2 separate regions of the Homo sapiens genome follow, and region 1 is linked to region 2. Evidence: promoter capture Hi-C in 16 types of primary human blood cells and fetal thymus (Javierre and others, 2016). All regions are on one chromosome and are shown on one strand. Each heading gives the region's core, a stretch centred on a gene start or on the middle of the fragment in contact. The rest is flanking DNA. Distances are from core to core; before and after follow the strand shown.

What was found. Contacts are between HindIII fragments. The CHiCAGO score rates a contact against its expected background, and 5 or more counts as called.
Region 1: a contact is called between a fragment that was not itself captured here and the fragment with the promoter of LRRC1 in region 2, in 5 of 17 cell types (total B cells, non-activated CD4 T cells, activated CD4 T cells and 2 more). The highest score is 7.4, in total B cells.

What each region holds. Positions count from the first base shown.
Region 1 is chr6:53,069,258-53,076,268 of GRCh38, forward strand. It overlaps FBXO9 (F-box protein 9), which reads left to right. Exons shown (of 13, transcript NM_033480.3): 2 at 1,800-1,886; 3 at 4,224-4,382. Among named protein-coding and RNA genes, the nearest start is that of FBXO9, 7.4 kb to the left of the region's middle. The HindIII fragment of the contact is 4,628 bases long and covers 1-3,909 here.
Region 2 is chr6:53,792,005-53,799,476 of GRCh38, forward strand. LRRC1 (leucine rich repeat containing 1) reads left to right here and starts at 3,001. Exons shown (of 14, transcript NM_018214.5): 1 at 3,001-3,411. The coding sequence starts at 3,253. LOC124901333 (a long non-coding RNA gene) reads right to left here and starts at 1,671. Exons shown (of 5, transcript XR_007059619.1): 1 at 1,537-1,671; 2 at 1,279-1,345. RefSeq lists silencers at 1,692-1,821, 2,867-3,106 and an enhancer at 3,073-3,785. The HindIII fragment of the contact is 4,441 bases long and covers 1-4,316 here.

The DNA.
Region 1 (7,011 bases), core at 346-2,845, 720 kb before region 2:
TCAAGTATCAAGTTATATCTGATTGGTATCATTAAACTTACCTGTGAAGAAGATAACTATAAAGAAGCAATGTTGTATTTCATTAACATGAAACATTAGAGTATTTTCTGTTTTGGGACTTGTAGAAGTTTATGGACACTAAAATTATTTGGGCTTTTTGCCTTAGACTCAATTATGTTTGGAACATCTGTCACAGCACCTTGTCAACTGCATTCTAGAACATTTCTCCTCCTGATGGAAAATACAACATGACCTATGAGGCAGTCTTGCAAAAGAAAAAAGAAATAGCAGAATCTAATCTAGCCTTTCAAGATCCTGCCACAATTTATAGGAAATAAGAGTAAGAGGTCAAAGGAACATATTTATTGACACCTCAGCAAAATCTAGCTTCTACAGAAAAACGACCCAGTTTCATCCCAAATAAATTACAAGAAAAAAGAGTGAGGATTACAAAAGACTTGAGACATATCAAGCAATTACAATGTGGACTTTATTTGAATCTTGATTTCACAAACTGTGAAATATATGTATTTTACATATGACATCTTGAGAAATATGAATACTGTGACTTGATATTTGATCTAAGGAATTACATTGATAATTATTGAAGTTGGGTCATGAGTACTTAGGGATTAATTCTCTTTAAGTGTTTTTCTCATAAAAAGTTTTAAAGTCTTGTAGAACTAAAAAAATACCAAAGATGTTCTAATTTTATTTCATTTTTTTCTAAGAAGAATAATATTTTTCTTTTCTTTTTTCCTTTTTTTTTTTTTTTTTTTTTTTATGATGGGGTCTCTGTCATCCAGGCTGGAGTGCAATGGTGCAGTCTCGGCTCACTGCAACCTCCATCTCTCAGGCTCAAGCAACCCTCCCACCTCAGCCTCCCAATTAGCTGGGACCACAGGCGTGTACCACCACGCCTGGCTGATTTTTTGTATTTTTAGTAGAGATGGGGTTTCACTATGTTGGCTAGGCTGGTCTTGAACTCCTGACCTCAAGTGATGCTCCTGCCTCAGCCTCACAAAGTGTGGGGATTACAGGTGTGAGCCACCGCACCTGGCCAGAAAAAGAGAAAATAATTTTTATTATAGATTATCAGTAGTTATGTATATTAATGAAGAATTTGGCTTCATTTACCTAATTAGATTAATCATAAATCATTTATGAATAGTAATAGACTTGAATTGTTACTTTATATTACACAGTTGGCCCTCTGTACCTGCAGGTTCTGCATCCTGGGATTCAACTGTGGATCAAAAATATTTGGGGGAAAAAAAGCAATACAACAATAAAAAATAATACAAATTAGGAAAAATATACTACAAGAACTATTTACATGGCATTTACATTATAAGTAACCTAGAGATGACTTAAAGTATATGAGAAGATGTGCATAGGTTATATGCAAATATGCCATATGAGGGACTGGAAAACCCAGGGATTTTGGTGTCCTGGGGGCTCCTGGAACTAATCACCTGTGGATACTGAGGGACAACTGTAATTAAATTGATTTTTGGATGGATGCAACTGATGTTAAATTTGGCGGGGGGGAAATGTTAGGATTCACAATAACGTGAGTACTGTGGGTTGGAGTAGAGAATATGCTTTTCAGACTCATTTTCCTTTGGAAATTAATAGTAAGGTCTCAAGTGCCCCCTACAGCCTTGCTACTCAAAGTGGGTTCCACAAAGTGTTGACAGTATGGTACTAAATAGAAAGTGGCTGAATGAGAAATGTAGATTGCAGAGGGCAACTGGTGTGTTTATATGCCTGACATTATTTGGGTTTTCCCCCCTCAGGCAGAAGCTGAGGAAGATTGTCATTCTGATACTGTCAGAGCAGATGATGATGAAGAAAATGAAAGTCCTGCTGAAACAGATCTGCAGGCATGTTTCTTCAATTGTGTCTTTGATTTTTATTCCATTGTTCCCATACATATGCAGAAATTGATCATAATCATGGGTATTTGTAGGTTATTACTGTTTGCATGGAATTTAACTGTTTCCATACTGGTTTATAGAATACTTAAAACTATGTTATGGCTTTCTTTGTGAAAAGAAATATCAATAATGGTTGCTTGTAGTTTAACATGGGTTTAAAGTATTCAAACTAAGGCTTACGCATGACTCAAAACCCATAATCTTAAAAAGATTGATGGGTTTGACCACCTAAAAGTTTAAAACCTGTGTATAAGAAAAGGCATCATAAATAAAGTTAAGAGAAATAGCCAGCTGGAAAAACTGTTTATTATATATGGGCAGAGGATTCATCTCATTACATAGAGCACTCATATATTTGGAAGAACAGAGGATAAAAAGATATGAGTGGACTGTTAATGGCAAAATAATACAAATGGCCATTAAATATTTGAAGAGATAATTAGCCTCATTAATAATTTAATCAGATTGGTGAATAATGTGCATCGCTGTCCAAGCTGTGAGAACACTCATGCAGTGTACATGAAAATGTAAATTGGTACAGCTTTCTGGAGGGCAGACTGGTGATATGGATCAAAATGAAAAACATGCATTCCCTTGATACAGCAATTCTACTTCCAGGAAATTAATTTTAAGGAAATAGTGGGGAAAGTAAATATGCAACTATAAAGATGTTTAGTATAGCATTGTTTATCTGGAAAAACATCATACAACTTAAATATTCATTACCTGTTATTAAGTAATGATGCATCCATACAGTGAAAACACTACAGCCATTTAAAAGGATGAAGTAAATCTTTATACATTAAAAGAGAAAAAAAGTTGCTGTAACTAGTTAAGTGTGTCTCACTGCACTTGTAAGGTTAATAATAATTATTTGGAACAGCTCATCTAGTAGACATTGAATGCTGCTAAAGATTCTGCAGGTCAGAGATCTATGTGTAACAGGTTAAAAGCGTAGCAACAAAGCAGTGTACAGAATATAGAGAAAAATTAATTTAAAACATTCTAGATACGTCTTTTTTTAAAAAAAAAAAAGGAAGCCAGGAATAACATATGCATCCCTGTTAGCAATGGCTGCCTTTGGGCAGAACGTGTAACCCAGTTTGGGTTCCCCAGGAAGCAGACTAGGTGAAGATTGCTGTGCAGGAAGTTTATTAAGGAGTATTCTTGGGATCAACACCTATGGAAGGGAGAGAGGGAAACAAATGGGCAGGGAGAAGACCAGCTGCAATGCAGTCTTAATGGACTGCTTAGCCATCCTCGAGGGAGTTCTGAAGATGAAATACCCTTTCAGAGATGACCTGAGTTGCAAAGAGCCAAGACTTTATTAGCCGTTGATCAGTCATTGGGTGGGGATTGAGAGGACAGTGTGATTTTGCTGAGGCAATACCCAAAAGGGCTGACAACTCAAGTGTTTTCAGATAGAACTCTCAGCAGTTTGGGTAACAAGTTCTTTATTTCTGAAAGGGAATCTGGGCAACACACCAGAGTCTACCTTATAGGGTTCACTTTTTATGTGCTTTTAATTTTTTTTTTTTTTGAGATGGAGTCTCGCTCCATTGCCCAGGCTGGAGTGCAGTAGCACGATCTCTGCTGACTGCCAACCTCTGCCACCCGAGTTCAAGCAATTCTCATGGCTCAGCCTCCCAAGTAGCTGGGATTACAGGTGCCCGCCACCACACCTGGCTAATTTGTTTGTATTTTTAGTAGAGACAGGGTTTCACCATGTTGGCCGGGCTGTTCTCGAACTCCTGACCTCAGGTGATCCGTCTGCCTCGGCCTCCCAAAGTGCTGGGATTATAGGCATGAGCCTCTGTGCCTGGCCTTTACATTTTTGAAATAACAAATATTTGAAAAAACATTTTCTTTTTGAAATACAGAATGTTAATAGATTTTGGGCTTACCTACAGAATTTTTGGCAGCATTCTTAATGTCTACTAGATGATATAGTCATTAAAAAATTATTGGAAGCTTATAACTTCAGTCTGTAAGTGATGGCTTATATTTTCAATTCTAATTAAAATTTGGTTTTCCAATATAATTTGACTTTTGGTGTACTGACATGTATTTTATGCTAATTTTCTTGATTCTTTAAGTTTTGAGCAGAAAATTATTTTAAAAGATGTATTTAATGGATATTTAATAATTCAGAAGACAGTGATTTCTGGACTTAGAGTAATAAGTATATACGTGGAAGTAGATAGATGTTGGACATATTGATACATTGTTCCAGAGTTGAGCTACCCTTCCTTGATGAGTCCTAAAATGCTGTTCTCCCCATAGGCACAACTCCAGATGTTCCGAGCTCAGTGGATGTTTGAACTTGCTCCAGGTGTAAGCTCTAGCAATTTAGAAAATCGACCTTGCAGAGCAGCAAGAGGCTCTCTCCAGAAAACATCGGCAGATACCAAAGGAAAACAAGAACAGGCAAAAGAAGAAAAGTTAAGTATTATAGATATTGTAACAAATTACATTTTTTTTTTTTTGGCACATGGAAATTTTCACTGACACAGTAAGTAGGCATTATAACCAGACTTTCGGGACATAAACACATATCTTGTAAAATAAAAATTTTGACTAGTATACTAGTTTATATATTTCTCACAATTTCTTCTAGGTACTTTGGATGGTACCACTACTCCTGCATGGCTTTTTTCTCTGTGGGTACACTGTCTTCATTGAGCTGTCTTTTGTTAATTTATAGACCTCTGGGATTCATGTGGTTCCTAAAAGATTGGTGTCTCTGAATTTATTAACAGAACCAAAAAGAAAAAACAGAATTTTCTAAATTTATTAATAGAACCAAAAAGATTGCTCACATGTTAATGTCTTTCCAGAGGTCTTAATTTCATGCAGTATTTTGTTATATTTTGAATTGATCAGCTTACAATAATGCATTAATCATTTCCTTATTCTGGAAAATTTTGAAATATTTTCACACTGAAAATATTTTGAATGCTGTCTAACATTCATATCTCTTCTGGTACTTACTCACACAGAGTAGGCACAGCATACCATTTCATTTCTTATTCTTCTTCCATAGAGGCTGCCATCTTTTTACCATCAGATCCAAGTTTGTGTTTATAATTAGTCATCAAATAATTGGCATTACCATGATGACTTACCTTCTATCTCCTCTTAATTTTTATTTTGAAATAATTACAGGTCCACAGGTATAGGGAAGTCCTGTGTGCCCTTTAACCTCCTCCGATGGTAACAACTTGCATAACTATAGTACAATATCAAAAACGAGGAAATAGACATTGGAACAATCCACAGTTTACTTGGATTTCCTGAGTTTACAAGCACTTGTCTGTGTGTATGTGTATAAATAGTTGTTTGCAGTTTTATTACAAGGTAGCTTCATGTAACCACCACCACAATCAAGATACAGAACTGTTTTATAGTTATATACTCCCTTTCCCTAGCCATTCGTAACCACTGGCAACCACTAGTCTGTTCTCCATTTTGTAATTTTGATATTCCAAGAATGTTGTATAAGTGGAATCATCCAGTATGTAACCTTTTGAGATTGGCTTTTTTCACTAAGTATAATTCCCTCAAGATCAGTCCAAGTTACTATGTATCAGTAGTTTGTTCCTTTTTATTGCAGAATAGTATTGCATGGTATGGATGTACCCCAGTTTAACCATTTATTGGTTGAAGGACATTTGAGTTGTTTCCAATATTTGGCTGTTATGAATGGAGCTATGGAAATATGTGTGTAGGTTTTCTCATGAACATAATTTTCACTTCTCTGGGATGAAACCCCAAGAGTACAATTGCTAAGTTCTATAGTAAGTACATGTTTGATTTTAAAAGAAACTGCCAAAGTGTTTTCTAGAGTATCTTATATTAAGTTCCCACCAGCAATGTATGAGTGATCCAGTTCATCCTCATCAGCATTTAGTGTTGCTACTTTTTAATTTAATTTAATTAATTTATTTATTTATTTTAAGACAGAGTCTCACTTTGTCGCCCAGGCTGGAGTGCAGTGGTGTGATTCCAGCTCACTGCAACCTCTGCCTCCCGGGTTCAAGCGATTCTCGTGCCTTGGCCTCCCAAATAGCTGGGATTACAGGCCCCGTCAGTAACGCTGGGCTAATTTTTGTATTTTTACAAATTTGTATTTTGTATCTAGAATGCAAAAAGAACTTCCAAAACACAATATTAAAAATATTAGCAATCTAGCTGGGTGCGGTGGCTCACTTCTGTAATCCCAGCACTTTGGGAGCCTGGGGTTTCACCATGTTGGTCAGGCTTGTCTCGAACTCCTGACCTCAAGCAGTCTACCTGCTTCAGCCTCCCAAAGTGCTGGGATTACAGGAGTGAGCCACTGCACCTGGCCTTTAATTTTATTAATAGCCATTCTGATAGGTATGTAGTGGTATCTCATTGTCATTTTAATTTGCATTTCTCTAATGGCTTGTGATGTTGAACATCTTTTCATGTGCTTATTTTTCATCTATTAATATATATTCTCTCTCTGAAATATCTGTTGATGTCTTTTCTAATTGGATTACATATATATATATAATTATTTTTTTTTTTTTTTTTTTTTTTGAGATGGAGTGTCACTGTGTCACCCCAGGCTGGAGTGCTGTGGCACGATCTCAGCTCACAGCAAGCTCTGCCTCCCAGGTTCAACTGATTCTCCTGCCTCAGCCTCCAGAGTAGCTGAGACTGTAGACGTGTGCCACCACAACCGGCTAATTTTTGTATTTTTAGTACAGATGGGGTTTCATCTTGTTGGCCAGGCCAGTGTCGAACTCCTGGCCTCAGGTGATCTGCCGACCTCAGCCTCCCAAAGTGCTGGGATTACAGGCGTGAGCCACCGCGCCCAGCCAGATGCTAATATTTTTGATGTTGTGTTTTGGAAGTTCTTTATTCTAGATGCAAGTCTTTTATTGAATATGTGGCTTGTAAATATTTTCATCCTCTTAACAGGGCATTTCACAGAGCAAAAATTTTTAATTTTGACAAGGTCCAGTTTATCAGTTTTTCCTTTTGTGAATGGTGCTTTTGGTGTCAAGAACTCTTTGCCTAGTCCTAGGTCTCCAAGATTTTCTTT
Region 2 (7,472 bases), core at 1,751-4,250:
CAGCTTAAAGCAACAAACATTTACTGTCTCACATAATTTCTGAGGGGCAAGAGTGGGGAGCAGCTTAGCTGAGTGGTCCTGAGTCTGAGGCTATCATGAGGTTTTAGTCAAGCTATCAGCTGGTGCTGCAGTCACTTGAAGGCTTGACAAGGGCTGGAGAACTGGCTTCCAAGATGGCTCACTCACATGACTACTGCCAAGAATCGTCAGTCCCTTGCTAGTTGTTGTCAGCAGTCTGCAATTCTTTGGCATGTGGAGCTCTAGATTTGCTCAACATGGCAGCTGGCTTCCCCAAAGTGAGTGATTCGAGAAAGAAAAAGTTGGTTACATAGACCAACCAGGAGATGGTGGATGTTGTCCCTAACTTCCTGGAGGCTGGCTAATAAAGTGCATAATTAATATTTATTGATTAAAGTAATGTGTGTCTGATACTGTACTAAGCATTTTACATATGTCATTTCATTTAATCCAGATAACAATCCCATGAATCATCCTCATTTGAGATATGATAAAACTGAGGCTTATACAAGTTAAGTAAACTGTCAATTTCTACGAAGCTAGTGGCATAACAAGAGTTCAAACACAGATCTCTTTAGCTCAAAGGCTGTGAAAACATGGTTCACAGTACAAATGAATAAAAGAATTACATTATTCTAAGAATAAAGTGATTTAGGTGGTCTTTTTAAACTTTGTTTAAATTGAGTCAAACTCATTTGTATGTGGCGGAAGAAACTAGATGTTTTATCAGGCGGGAAACCCTAAAATTCTTCAGGTGAGTAAAAAGTTAATTGCTTCCCTATTCTGTAGTTGACAAGGTGTTGTTTCATTTTTTCTCTCTTACTACGCTGTTTCAAATTCTTGGCAGATTATTGGAAACAAGGAAAGTCAAGAATTCTCCCAGTGACTACCCATAGAATTAAATCAACAAAAACTGTTGATCATTGACTGTGCATATGGCACTGTGGCAGCTTCCCAGATCTACAAAGCAAGTGAGACAGTATCTGTTGTTTAAGAGGTCATAATCTCTTTCGGATTAAGGTGATACAAAAATAATAACACAGAGAAGCTGAAGCATCATGGAGAGGCACACAAGGAATGCTTATTGAGGTCTGAATTTTTAAAAGACTGGACACGTCTTTAAAATACATTTGGTGTTCGTTAAAATAATCTAGTGTGATAACCTCTGGAAATCACATTATTTTAAATGGAGGGAACTAGCCTTCTTTAATTTTTTTTTTAAAAAGCAGTTGGAAAACTTGAAGACAGGGACTTACTTACCTTTCCACATGTCTCTGTCAGGAACCAGTTTTCTAGGAAGGGTGGCAGAAATGAGCTTCATATGTTTCTGGAATGCAAGAATGTAGAAAGGGGGGTGGAGGTTCAAAGTCCAGGTAGCCCTCTGTGAGAACGCAGGAATCAAATCAGGACAAACAAAAGAAGGGTGAAGTGGGTAGGGCAACGGAGTTTCGGGATTGACTGGAATGAGAGTTAAGGTGATAATGCTGGGGTGGAAATGAAAGTCAGACCCCTCCTTACGGACTGGGAAGAAAGGAGCCCTCCTAGTAAAGTTGAAAAGACCAAGTGTCCTCTTCTCCATTTCACCGGGGAAACGCTCCTGTGCCTAGTCGTAAGGTACAGGAGAGTCTATGGAGCCCATGGAGAGTCTAATGCAAAAACTAGTTTCCGACCAAACTTTGCCTTGGCCACTGAGCATGCTCAGCTTTGTCTTCTATAGAAAAGTGAACTCCGTGGCTCCAGATTTTAGCTATAGCAGCTGGAGGGCGGGAGTGAGTGTGGGAGAGCCAGCGTGGCAGCGGCCGCAGGTGGAAACCTGGAGTTTGAGTATGCTTGAAAGGGAAAGTGTGGAACGAAGGGGCGGCCGGGTGGGGAATCAGAGAAGCCCCCAAGGAAATGATTCATCATTGTGATTGACCTTGACTTTAGCAACCCTTCATTAAAGGAGAAAATTTGGTTATTCGGAGATGGGGACTGTGTTGCAAACAGTTACAGGCAAAGAGGGGCAGTTCAGGATTCCGGCCGTGGTCCGCAGGAATGAGTCGGGGCGAGGGAATGGTTGTTATAACCCAATAGTGAGCCTCCCCGGTCATCCGGGCTGGACGGGACTGGGGTTGTAGCAGAAAAGCAGGAGCTGTATGGAGGATGCTCACCTGGCAGCCTCGATCTGCCCCTCTTCCCTCGCTCCTCCCTCCGCACCAGCCACAGCTAGTTGTCAGGGGCCAACATCTGGGCCGGGCTGGAACTGGCTCAGAAACTCGCGTTTGCCTGCTTATTTCTGCAGCTGGGCTCCTTGCCAGGTGCAACCACATCTATGAGAATCTCGCAGACTCTCAGACTCCTATGCCTTTGCTGGTACAGGGAGGAGGATTTACTATCACTCACTGCATAAACCATGATCACCAGAGATGTGCTCCCAAGTTACAAAGCCTGCAGGCGGTGCCCGAGGACCAGAGGGCCGGGCGCGGCCAGCTCACACTTCTGGGGCAGCCGTGAGCAGCGGGCACACGGGCAGCCACGAAAGCAGCAGCGAGGGTGGTGCAAACACCTCAAAACTACACCGAATCCAGTAGCGCCTGGCGCCCCCGGCGCGCAAGGTACGCTTTGGGGCGGTCCTGTGTGACCCCGGAAGAGAAAGTTGTTTTGGGGAAGGGGAGCAAGGAGAGGAGTGCGAGTTAAATAAAACTAAATATCAAAGTTGTTCTGCTCTGCTCAGGCCGCCTCTACTCCGCCTCATCTTTGTCCCAAGTCCTTTCACAGTCTGCCTTCCTCAAACGGCCCGATGCGCCCCCGTCTTTGCCGGAGTAAGCAGACCGCCAGCAGCCGGCCCGCAGGTCAGTCGACCCTCTCTGGATGCAGGTCGCCGGGAAAACCCGGAGCGGAGCATCCCTCGGGCCGGGAAACGCCCTCGGCGCGCACCCACTGGCGCGCATGCTCAGTCCGCGCGGCGGCTGCGAGTAGGAAGCTCCGCGCGGCGGCGGGGGCGGCGACGGCGACTGGCGGGTGGGAGTGGAGGCACCGGCTGGCGGGCGGGGGTACAGGGACGGGGCAGGGGCTCCCGCTCCAGGTTCCTTGAAGCACTTCCGACCGCGAAGCCCGGCGCGAGAAGCGAGCTAACCCAAGAGCCAACAACGAGCGCGGAGAGGGCAGCGGACTGAGCGGAGCCGCCGGCCAGAGCGGGCTCGGAGCCCGGGTCTCCGCCGCTCGGGACCCGGCTAGGCGGCGGCGGGGGCGGCGATGTTCCACTGCATCCCCCTGTGGCGGTGCAACCGTCATGTGGAGAGCATCGACAAGCGCCACTGCTCGCTGGTCTACGTCCCCGAGGAGATCTACCGCTATGCCCGGAGCCTGGAGGAGCTGCTGCTGGACGCCAACCAGCTCCGCGAGCTGCCCGAGGTAAGGGTCCGGCCTCACCTGAGCGCTCTGCCCGCTCGTCTGCTGTCCCTTCCGCTCCCATCCTCTCTCGTCCCCTCTTCCATCTCCGGGTCCGGCGTGAAGGAACCTTCCCTCTTTTATGCATTCACCTGCTTCTTTCTCCCCCTGTCTCTTTACTTCCATCCTTTCCCAGTAAAAGTTCCTTTTCATTTTATTCAAAGTGACCGGATATTTTGCGCGTAGTCACTGGGGCTCGTGCTATTGGAGAAGCGTTCTGGACTGTTAAGTAACTTAGATCCATGCTAGGTACTGACACCTGGCACTTGTGCCCGGTCAGGTGAGAAGCCGGGTGATTCGGGCTGTTTCCATCTGGAAGCTACAGAGCACTGCATCCTCCCCCCCTCCACTCCCCGGGGTCGTTCCCCCACCAAGGGCCGGGCGCGCCTCTCCTTTAGTCAAGGCATGTCCCGGAGGACCTTGTGACCTGGGCAGCGCTCAAGCGGGCCGCACTATCTCGGCATCTTGGGAGGAATGAGGAATGTGCTCCGTGCTTTATCGCGGGTGGGCTTGGCCGGCTGGCCTGCGGTGGCTGCGGGGGTGGACGCGAGATGGGCGCAGGGGAGAGCTGGGCCTGGAGCGCTAGGGGCAGGTGCCCAGATGCCGGCCGCCCGGGCCTTGCCTACGTGGACCTGTTGCGTGGTGGGAGCTGCGGTGAACGTCAGCGGAGGCTCTGCCCGCGGGCCAGCCTTGCAGCCGCCTTTCCCGGAGCGGGCACAGTCGTCCTGCTGACTTTCTCTCCTTGCAGTGATGCGTTATCTCTTCAGAGTTGTTTATGTAAATTGATCACTCCATTGCCGCCGAACTTGTCAAGCGACATGTGCTGATGGTGCTTTGACCGAGAGTAGGGGTACAGCGAACTTCTTTCAAGCTTGCCTCGGGAACTTAGCTAGAGTAACCCCTCGGGGAAGGTGTCTCAAACCCAGGTGTGTGCAGGAAGTCGGTGTGCAATAATCCAAAGGTGTGCAGGAAGTAGGGAGACTGCTGGCAGTCGGGGATTGGACCTGTTTTAGGCCTGAGCTTTGGAACGCAAACTTCTTGTTGCCCTTTAGTTAACACAAGCCAAATCATTGTCACAGAAACACTAGTCAAGTGTTCTGACTTGTTAGAATGACCTGATACGTTCTCCAGCGCTGATGGAGCATTTAAACAATAAGAACTGTGTGTTTTTCTCAATATTTTAAGTGGTGGTGTTCTTCTTGGATTAACTTTCCTGGGTTCATGTGGAATTGATTGGATGTTTGCTCTGTGTAATCATGGAGATTATCCTCACTAGGACCTTTGCAAAGCCCCCCAGGCTTTATTTAGCTTAGAAGCAGCAAAGCCATCAAGTTCCCTCAGGCGTTTATTATTTCGCAGGCATTTTCAAACACATGATTTTTTTCTGGCCTTTTACGTCCTTGAAGATTTCTTACCAGTCGTCAGCTCCCTCACTGCTTTAAGTTGTGTAATTTTAGGCAGTGATATCACCAGGAATATAGAATATGTAATTTAATAGTTTTCAGGGGCTTCAGGATGACATTATTGAAGATGGAGTGAAAAGTTATTCACTAGAAATGATTCATTGCTCTTTGTGGTATTTGTTTTTTTGTTTTCTTTTGTAGAACTGGAAGATTTCCTTTGACTGGATTGGCTTTTCACTCCCTTCTGCAGGGTTTGTGGGTTTTCCTGTAATGTTGGGGAATTCAGCTTGGCATGGGAAATTACATAATTTCCCATGCCAAGCCGAAATGTCAGGTCTTTCTGTGATCCTAAATGGAAACTTGTCAGAATCTCAAAATATAGTCTGATGGCACTCTGTAAATATGGTAAATAAACAAGCTTTTCAAAGGTTACAGGTGATCTTGCTAATGGATTATTATTGCTCTAACAGCTGTTAAATTAGTATTAAAGTTTTTAGGTTGTGTAAAATCTACTTCTCCCTGACTTATTGTGTGTCTTGGTGCCTGGGTGTGTACATGCCAGACATGAGAACCACCTTGCAAACATAGATATCTGTTCCATCCCTTCCATTCTTTCCTTGGGCTATCTGTTGTCTCACCTCTGAGATCTGTATAACTTATTACCACTGGTCTCTGCTGCTCCTGCTCCAAACCCCTGTCTCCTTACCTGCCACACACAAGCGCATCTGTTTTGTTCACAAGCCTCAAAGGTCCTTATTTTGGTGGCCATACCAGCTGTATGTTCTCCTCTCTATAATTTGTTTGGAAGCACAGCTTAAGGGGAAGCCGGTACCCCTTACCAGGGCAGCAAAGATGCACTCTCCAGGTTTCAGTGTAATAACAGCCACCTTCTTTCCACTGAAAGGCCTGCAACTTCTGGTTTGCGCCAATATCTTCCTTTTACAAATTCAGATTCAGAATTGAGGTGACTTTCTCAGGGCTGTCCAGTGAGTTAGATGCAGTTGCTGGTGGGTCTTGTTCATTCAGATGTCAGCCAAATACAATTGCTTTGGACACCTAGCAGGAATCTTCTATCCTGCTTCTCACACCCATCAAATCTTTATTTAGTCTCTCCTGTTTTACTCATGTCATTATAACTTAGCCTTAGCCAAGCATTTATTGAGACTCCATTATTTACAAGTTATTGGGAATATAGAGATTAAAGGAGGCATGATTCACATCTTTGGGAGGAAGCAGATGATTTTAATCCAGATGTAGTTAGTGTGGGATGGAAAGGACACCACGGTTAAACTACTCCTAAGCTATGGACTTGATGGTTACTTCCCTAATCTTTTAACCTTTTGCATCAGATCCCTCATCTTCAGTTTGGTTGCAGTTGGGTGATAGCCTCACCATCCTTTTTGCATCCACCTACTTCTCCCCCATACCCGCAGTTTGATCCTTTTTGGCTCTGTGCTAACAAAGGCAGTCTCACTGTAACCTTCTTGAGATGTCTGTGTGTTTTTGCTTACCTTTGTTTATTTTTTATTTATTTATTTTTTGAGACGGAGTCTCACTCTTGTTGCCTAGGCTGGAGTGCAGTGGCACGATCTCCACTCACTGCAAGCTCCTCCTTCTGGGTTCACACCATTCTCCTGCCTCAGCCTCTCGAGTAGCTGGGACTACAGGTGCCCACCACCACACCCAGCTAATTTTTTAGTATTTTTAGTAGAGACAGGGTTTCACCATGTTAGCCAGGATGGTCTCGATCTCCTGACCTCATGACCCACCCGCCTTAGCCTCCCAAAGTGCTGGGATTACAGGCGTGAGCCACCATGCCCGGCCTTACCTTTGTTCAGCACAGAATCTCATCCTTGTGACACCCAATAGGTCTTGCTCAATAAACAGTTATTTATCTGTTGAATGAATGTTGCCGAATCTTATAAAAATCTTCCTCCCTCTGCTTCTTTCTTTTCCCTTAAGCATATCACTGCTCCAGCATCTATCCTTTTCTAATATAGTCAGAATATTCAAGTTGGAAGCAACTTCAGAAGAAAAGGTCATTCATAGGGTGACACTGTTTTGTCCTACTTGCCCTGCAGGAACCTTGGCTTCCCCTCTGTACTTCCTCAGCCTTTCACATGCCATTGGTTTTCTCCTCAGTGTGCACCAGTTCTCAGATACCTTCAAATGCGTGTGTTTTCCTGTAATCTCCAGCACCAATATAGCGCTTCATGTAGTAGTAGGCAGCACATATTTTAAATGAATATACTAAAGGCTTCATAGCTTTAAAAATTTGAATTTCACCTTGCCACCTCCTCTTAAGAGTTCAGTTGATTTTTGTTGATTGCCAGATGGCATTATCTCAAATGCCTGCCCCCTACATCATTCTTTCTCATATTCTGCTTTATTTTTTCCTGTCCTTTAGAGCATATATCATTACCTAACTCCAGACCATATATTTGCTTTCTTGTTCTTTGTCTCTCTCCCTAACTAAAACATAACCTCCATGAGTGCAGAGGTCTTCACGGCTGGACCTAGGACAGTATTTAGTACATAGTGGGCACAAAGATGTGTCAGTGAGTCCTAACATGGGTAGATGGGCCCTGTTTCTTAGCCGTCATAATTCCCCTTCCTATGGTC